Regions from separate parts of the Homo sapiens genome. Here region 1 is linked to region 2. Evidence: promoter capture Hi-C in human tissues and cell types (Jung and others, 2019). All regions are on one chromosome and are shown on one strand. The core of a region is centred on a gene start or on the middle of the fragment in contact, and the rest is flanking DNA. Distances in the headings are between cores, read along the strand shown. Region 1 has its middle 2.6 kb from the start of LINC00334. Region 2 holds the start of PCBP3 (poly(rC) binding protein 3).

What was found. The method cuts DNA at HindIII sites, captures the fragments that hold promoters and counts their contacts. A contact is called where the count stands out against the background at its distance.
Region 1: a contact is called between a fragment that was not itself captured here and the fragment with the promoter of PCBP3 in region 2, in 3 of the 25 tissues and cell types used here (H1 embryonic stem cells, IMR-90 fibroblasts and dorsolateral prefrontal cortex).

Annotation. Positions count from the first base shown.
Region 1 is chr21:45,229,663-45,233,768 of GRCh38, forward strand. No RefSeq gene overlaps it. Among named protein-coding and RNA genes, the nearest start is that of LINC00334, 2.6 kb to the right of the region's middle. The HindIII fragment of the contact is 4,173 bases long and covers 1-3,460 here.
Region 2 is chr21:45,641,012-45,645,371 of GRCh38, forward strand. PCBP3 (poly(rC) binding protein 3) reads left to right here and starts at 2,714. Exons shown (of 18, transcript NM_001384156.1): 1 at 2,714-2,857. RefSeq lists silencers at 1,919-2,908, 3,229-3,368. The HindIII fragment of the contact is 13,348 bases long and covers 1-4,360 here.

The DNA of each region.
Region 1 (4,106 bases), core at 124-2,623, 410 kb before region 2:
GTGAAACTCTGTCTCTACTAAAAATACAAAAATTAGCCGGGCGTGGTGGCATGCACCTGTAGTCCCAGCTACTCGGGAGGCTGAGGCAAAAGAATCGCTTGAACCCAGAAGGCAGAGGTTGCAGTGAGCCAAGACCACACCACTGTAGTCCAGCCTGGGCGACTGAGCGAGCCTCCATCTCAAAAAACACACACACACACACACACACAAAAATACTGGGACAGCTGAGCGTGGTGGCTCATGTCTGTAATCCCAGCACTTTGGGAGGCCAAGGCGGGTGGATCACAAGGTCAGGAGATTGAGACCATCCTGGCTAACACGGTGAAACCCTGTCTCTACTAAAAATACAAAAAATTAGCCGGGCGTGGTGGCGGGCGCCTGTAGTCCCAGCTACTCGGGAGGCTGAGGCAGGAGAATGGCGTGAACCCCGGAGGCAGAGCCTGCAGTGAGCCGAGATCGCGCCACTGCACTCCAGCCTGGGTGACAGAGCAAGACTCAGTCTCAAAAAAATAAAATAAAAAATATAACAGGGACAGGCAGCTCCACTAATGGAGAAGACAAGAAGATTCGGATGAAACGATACCGGCCAAGTGTTGGTAATTGTATGTTTGCAAATGTTCATAAGAAGATTTAAAAAGTGCTAGCATAGACTTTTTAAAATGCCATTTATTTGGTACTCTAAGGACTCGTGGGATTTTTTTTCACACAAAAGCAACAACTTTTAGTGCTGTAAAATGTAAATTGTCCAAATTAAAGAAAATAAGAAAAATATCAGGAAGCTTTTAAAATTGCAATCATTTACTTCCTTAGAGAGTCATTTTAAATGTATTTTTGTGGAAACAAGTACTTTATACATCAGCTGAATCTTATGTTGTTCTCCCTGGTCGATTTTCTTTCCTAGCACTGATTAATGACATTTGCATTTGTTTATCTGTCCCACTATGAAATGCAGACATCAGGGGGTGAGAGGCATTGGTTTGTTCATGGCTATTCACTTGGCACAAGCCTGCTATGTTGCAGATATTAAATAAATATATTCTGTATTAATTTTAAAAGTTCCCAGACATACCATGCGTCAGAGCTTTGCCACCTGGGAAGCAGGTTTGCATGAGATGCTTAAATTGAGAAACAAAATTTAGGAAATCTTACAAGAGGTTTACAGTGTAAAAATCAGTACTTTGCTAAGTTTGTGGTGGTTTTTTTTTTTTTTTTTCTTTTGAGACGGAGTCTTGCTATCGCCCAGGCTGGAGTGCAGTGGCGCGATCTCGGCTCACTGCAACCTCCGCCTCCCGGGTTCACGCCATTCTCCTGCCTCAGCCTCCCTAGTAGCTGGGACTACAGGCGCCCGCCACCAGGCCCGGCTAATTTTTTGTATTTTTAGTAGAGACGGGGTTTCACCGTGTTAGCCAGGATGGTCTCGATCTCCTGACCTCGTGATCCGCCCGCCTCAGCCTCCCAAAGTGCTGGGATTACAGGCGTGAGCCACCGCGCCCTGCCTGCGGTGGTTCTTAAAAAGCTAAAGTCAGGCCAGACACGGTGGCTCACGCCTGTCATCCCAGCACTTTGGGAGGCCGAGGTGGGTGGATTGCCTGAGCTCAGGAGTTTGAGACCAGCCTGGCCAACATGGCGAAACCCTGTCTCTACTAAAAATACAAAACATTAGCCGGGCATGGTGGCATGCACCTGTAATCCCAGCTACTCGGGAGGTTGAGGCACGAGAATCGCTTGAACCTGGGAGGCGGAGGTTGCACTGTGAGCCGAGATTGCGCCACTGCACTCCAGCCTGGGGGACAGAGTGAGACTCCGTCTCAAAAAAAAAAAAAAAAAAAAAAAAAGTGAAAGAAAACAACACACATCTTTAATAACCCAGAATTTAGTCTGGGTAATATCAACGTGATAAGGCCAGGGCGACATGGAGACCCAAGTATATGAGAGTACGTCTCAGTCTCTGTCCCACTGGGGCACAGATGGGAATCTCCATTATTTTTCTAATGAACAAAGGTCAAAGATTTTATGTTAATCATTATAAAATCTGTTAATAAGGGAAGTGGTAAGATGTTAAAATTGACTCCGTTGACAAATTGACTAACTCTAATAGATTAAATGAATTAGGGCTTTTATCTGCTTGTCCCAGGCAGAAAACAGTAGGGCCAAAACAGAAGTCAATAACCGGTGGATAATTTTGTCTGACCTCATGAATATTGAATGCTTCATGAATACTGAATGCCTCATGAATATTGAATGTCTTATGAATACTGAATGCCTTATGAATACTGAATACCTCTCTGATGCTCCCATTTTCTCTCCACAGTCTACTGGCTCATGTGTCTCACAGGCTACTGGCCTGTCTGCTCATTTCTCTTATTTTCTATGGATGAGTTGAATACTCTTAGATACTCATAAACAATACTGCAGACACACCTTACACTTTGTCAGCTACGGGATTTGTTAGTTTTCCACATTATGTTGATTCTTTCCTTCTAGGACTTAGAGTGAAGACACATTGGACCTTTCATGCTATCTACCACTTGGGTCAGTTATGAAGCTTTATCTCTCAGTTCCAAATTCAATATTTACGTTCCGCTTTATAATATTGAGGCTGGGACCCTGCAAATATGATGTTCCCATTCTCTGCTGGCTTTATATTCTGCCAAAGGTAGTACAAGAGGGACCATGGCAGACAGGATGAGGGAGAAGGTGATTTCCTGCCATTTGCTTGCTGTTGCTGCTCAGCCGCAGTGCTTCTGCAACTGCAAAGCTGCTATTGGTTCTCATCAGCAGGTTGCTTTGGAGTCTCACTGCCCGCCTTCACAGGTGCCAGTAGCAGGACAGCAGCACTCCACCTCAGAGGCTGAGGTCCAGCTCTGCACAGCCCCTCCTGAACTTCTGTAATACGTAGCAAAATTAATGGGGGAGGGTTTATAAATGACTTTTATACTTGATTTTTTTAATAAGAGATGGGGTCTCTGTCACCCAGGCTGGAGTGGAGTAGCACAACCGTAGTCCACTGCAGCCTCAAACTCCTGGGCTCCTCCCACCCCAGCCTCTTGAGTAGCTGGGACTACAGGTGCATGCTACCACACCCAGCTAATTTTTAAATTTTTTGTAGGAGTCTTGCCATCTTTCTCAGACTAGTTTCGAACTCCTGGGCTCAAGTGATCCTCCTACCTTGGCCTTCCAAACAGCTAGGATTACAGGTGTGAGCCACTGCACCTGGCCTATAGTTGATTCTTATTTAGTGTTTTGCTCCTAAAAGTAATGTTCAATAAACATATACACACAAGTCCTCACTTAGTACATGACCTGAACATTTACCCACATGCTTCATTAAAGTGTTACAAATTAAGTAAGAAGAGTGGTATATAGATGTATTTTCTTGTAATGGCATATCATAAAGTGGGTCAATTAATTATATTAGCTCTACACGTCTTAAATCATAACTTTATTGCTTTTGGTAATTTAATAAGATGTCCTCTATAATTTATTTCTCAGTGGTTTTCTTTTTTTAATATCCTTGAAAAAGCATGCTAACACTTTTATTTCAATTGAAAAAGTAGGTCAGACTTTTCCTGACGAAAAATGTCTAATTTGGTTCACTGGTTTGACAAGGAGGATTAGGGTATATGGAGGACATCTGCCATAAATAGAATGAACTACATCTTCAAGGATTCAATGAAAACACATTTAAAATAATAGTATAATAAAAGCATTTTATCAAAAATATTAAATTGGCCCCAAAAAGCAATGAAATTAACAACATTTTAATGTTCTCAACCCCCTCAAACTATATTAGATTAAATAAGGTGACAGAGAATCAGGGATAAACGACAGTCCCTTGATAAACTGAGACAAGGACAGCCTCTTAGTAAATGTTCCAGAAATTGAGACTGACTGGATAACACATCCTTTGGCAAGTCAAGTAGTTTCTAATCCTTTGCTTTCAAAACACTTGAATGAAAAACCGAGTTGATAGCTGATAAAGCATTAAACTAATTTTTACAGTTTTAAAATTTCAGATCATCATCGGATTTAGGAACTATTACTCAGAAGAGTTCAGAACACAATTGAGGGCCATTGCTATACTATACCTCCTTATCTACATATTC
Region 2 (4,360 bases), core at 1,464-3,963:
ATAACCTGCCTTCCCGATTTCCAAACCCACAGCAAGACACCCTGGAGTTATTTATAAATGCGAGCCCCTGGGTGCACTTCTGACGGGACCAGCACCCTGACGGCCATGAGAGGGTGGAGACAGCGCACCCCGAGCTCAGGGAGGCAGGAAACTCTGGACCTGGAGGCCGGGCACCATGAGGGACACGCTGCAGGCCCAGCTGCTGCCGCCTGGGGCGGGGCTGCCCTGCAGGCTCCGGGAAAACCCAGAACCAGGCCGGATCAGCGTGTGTCAAGAGGCGGGGCGTGAGAGATGAGCTGCTTTTTTTCTTCACAGGGTTGGCAGGAACTGCAAATAATAGAAAGTCTTTAGGGTCTAACACGCTGCCCTGAAAACACTATCATTACTTTCCTAATGACTAACTGTGTCTTTCAGCCGGCGGGGCAGGCAGCTGAGGCCGCAGGCTCCCGCAGAGGACCGGGGGAGGCTGGCAGCCTGTAATCTGGGGGCGCTGACAGTGCTCTGCCCAGACCCTCGCGCCAGCTCCAGCTCCAGCACAGCAGCCCTGGGTCCCTCTGGCCCCCTGCCCGCAGAGTCCAGGTGTGGCAGAGGCCGCCCAGTATCCCTTCTCCTCCTCCTTTTCTAAAAACAGAGTCTCACGATGTTTCCCATGCGGGTCTCCAACGCCTGGGCTCAAGCGATCCTTCTGCCTCGGCCTCCCAAAGCGTTGGGATTAAGGGGCGAGCCACCGCGCCCGGCCCACCTTCCCTTCTGGTTCATTTCCAGTAAGGTCCTGTCCACAGCGTCCTTCCCAGCATTCCCACCAGGCTGCAGGCCTTGGCCTCCCTCCCCTCCATTCTCATTCTCCCCGAAACCGCCAAGCGCGTCCAAAGCACGGGTTCGCCAAGCGCCCCCCCCGCCCCACTCCACATTCCCTTCCCCGCCGACTCAGCCTCCGTAGCTCGCGGACGGCCCCTCCTCACGCCAGCCCAGGCTTTTTTTTTTTTTTTTTCTTCTATTTTAAGGTTGTCTTTTAATGACACAAGCGACATTTGGAGACAAAAGGACACATCTCTTCCTGACCCACCTCCAACCCCAGCTGACGGCCGCCCTGAGCCTGGCGTAGACGGCCCGGAACGTTCCCTGCGTGGGTTCCGTCCATCCCGAACCCCTGTCCCCGCGCCGGCTCCGGGGGTGCTCGGGGGGCCGCGTGGGGTCTGTGACGTCGCCTCGAGGCTGCATCCCGGTGACCCGGCAGCCCCTGGCGCTCGCGGGAGGCGGGCGGGCGCGGACCCCAGGCTTTAGGGCGCGATTCCTGCAGCTGGCTGCCGGCCCGAGGTTCTGGGGTGTCTGAGGTCTCGGGCGGGGCGAGGACGTTTCTCCGGCTCAGCCCCCCCACCTCCTGCCCTGCCGCCCCCCACACCCAGCTCCCCACGGACGCCAAGAGGCGCCTCCCACCCCGGCGAGGACCCGCGGGGAAACGGGGCCCAGGCGCGGCGACTGCGGAGGACGCGCCTCGGCCCCAGCGCCCTGGTCCTCGGGGCGTCCGGCTGCCCTTGCCCGAGGCCGGGGCGGGCGCTCAGCGCCGCGGAAGAAACGCCCGGGCGGGGACGCACAGCGAGGCGGGCTCCGCGGGAAGTACCGGGAAAACGGCGCGGAGCGGAACAGCCCGGAGCCAGCCCAGAGAAAGGGCGGCCTCCCCCTGCAGCCCCCGGGGCCCAGCAACGCCCCGCCCCAGGCCACGGCACGCGAACGCCGGGCGGGCGGAGGGGACAGGGCGGCGGGACCAGCGCGGGGCGGGCAGCGTCTGGGCACAGGCTCACGAGCCGCTCGGGGCCCCTGCCCGCCGGGCGCTGCGGCCCCAGCCTCCGGGCCGGGGCCAGGCCCACAGAGAACGGGAAGCGGGCGCTGCAGGGGGACCTTCGGGGTTGCGGCACGGCTGGGAATTCAACGGCCATTCCCGTCCCGTCGGGCCCACCCGCCCGCCCGCCAAATCCCCGCCCACCGCGGATCCGCCCCGTCCACCAAGGTCTCGCTCACCAACGGCCCGCCCCGCCCACCACAGGCCTGGCCCGCCCACGAAGGCTCGCCCCGCCCATCCACGGCCCTGCCCACCACAGGCCCGCCCCAAGCCTGGGCCCCGCCCCAGCAAGGGCACTAATCCCCTAACCCCCGAGCCCCGCCCACTGCTCTTGCCCTTCTCCCGCCCGCCCCGACTTAGGCCTCTCCCCGGCCTGGCCTCCCGTACTCAGCCCCGCCCCTGCCCCGCCCCCACCCCACCCCAAATGTGACCTGCCCCTCCCACTGCCCGTCCCCTCCCCGCTTCACTTCATTAGGCCCCCGCCCCGATTCTTGCCCCGCCCGCTCAATGTCCCGCCTACGACCCCGCCCACTACTAGTGACCGGCCCGCCCGTTCGAGGCCCCGCCTCCTCCCCGCCCAATGCTCGGCCCCGCCCCGCGCGTCATTGGGCCAGGTCCCCGCCCCGCCCCCAGCCCCACCCCCGCCCCTTTGACTGGAGTTGGCTTTTTCCAGAGAACTTTCCGGGCTCGGATTGGCCGCGCCGGTTGATGTTCCGCCCTTTCATTGGCCCGCGGCGCCCGCTTTCGCGAGCCTGCCCTTGGGCGGGGGCGGGGCCGGCGGCGGCGCGCGGCGCTAGATTGGTTAGCGGCGCAGAGGGGCGGGCCCGCGCCGCGCGCAGCGCTCGGGCTGGAGCGCCTGAAGCCGCGACCGCCGCCTCAGCCGCCTCAGCCGCGGTCGCCGCCGCTTCGGCTGACTTAGGCTCCGCCGCCGCCTCCTCACCCGCCTCGCCCCGACCCCGCCCGGGCCTCCCGGCCTCTCCCCGCCGGCCCGCGGGCTCGCCGTCCGGCGCAGGGCAGGTGAGTGAGCGGTGGCGGGCGGGGTCGGGGTCGGGCGCCCTTGCGGGTTACGGGGACCCAGTCCCCGACGGAGGCCGAGTGACGGGGCGACCCCGGGCCGCGGCAAACTTCGCCCGAGCCGGGGCGGGCGGGGGTCCCGGGCTGGGTCGCGCCGTCCCCGACCGCCGCCGGCGCCTGCGGCGGCCCGGGGCAGCGAGGGGACTCGCGCTCCCTCAAGGTGCGGTCGCCAGGCCTGGCCCGCCCGCCTCCGCCCCCTCCCCAAATTCGGAAGTTGCGGCGGGAAGCCGAGAACGTCTCGGATGTGGGTCAGAAAACGTCTGGACTACTTGAGGCTTCAGTTTCAAAACGGCACAAATTTCATCTCTTGATTGAGAAGAGATCTGGGGAACACCCCGGAGCGGCCGCGGCGGCTGGAGGGCGGCGGGGCGGGGCGCGGGGCCTCCTCCCCCTGGACGGCCGCCGGGAGAGCGCGGCCTCACCCCTCGGTGACCCTGCGGAGAGCCGCGCGCGGGCGGTGGGGCGCGCGCAGGTCTCTCTTGTTGCTCGCTGTGTTTTATTTTAATTTTGGGGGTGGTTAGAACGTGTTTCTTATTGTCCCCACACGTGTTCTAATTGGAAGTCTTGTTTCGTGAAAGAGTTTTTTTCTTTTTTTTGCCTGGTGATGTTTTCCAATTCCCTCCGCGCCACTCTGAAGTATATTACTGGCATAAGAAATTTGAAAGTTAACCAAAAGTCGGGTCCTAAATCTCGTGGCTCGGGGTTGGTTATCTTCCACCGTCCTTCAGAGCAGCCTGGATTTGCAGGTCTTGTTAGCCCTCCATGTGAGCCAGTAGCACTCTTAGTTGTTGAGTGTTTGTAGAGTGGGATTCGCCAGAAGGAATCTTGAGCAGCAGGGCCTTGCGGAGAGGCCTTTAGAGATTAGACTGGGCAACTTATAGACTCCCCCCATTTCAAAAATATTCCTCTGGCACAGGCCCTCACATATCCCTCTGAAATTGAACTCACTTTCAGGGGCAAACTGTTGCCCTTTTTCTTTTCTTTGGACTTTCTCAGATGTGGATCCCAAAGGAGTGTGCAAGGGTGCTTCCCTATTTAAGAGAACTAACTCCCAGTCCTCCTCATATTCAAGAATAATTCATCATCTTAAAGCGTGTCAGAGATACCTATTTTGGCCCCAAAAGGAGTGTTTGTAGAACAGTGGCACTCTAAAGGGATCATTTGCAAGATCTGAAAGGACCTAATTGATCATCACACGACAGAAGCAGAAATAGTTCTGGTGTTTTCAGGCTTGGAGATCTGTCAGAAAACATGGGGCCTTAAAACTAACAAGTGCAGTGACCGACTAACTGATGTCTCACTTTCGAGCAGTATTTTTTTTTTTTGCTTGTATGTAGATGCTGTTGTTTATACAGTGCAAGTTCATTACGAATGGTTTAGAACTTACGTAGCTTCACGTATTTTCTTAGTTGATAATATTATAAGGTTTTGAAAAAGTTTTGATGA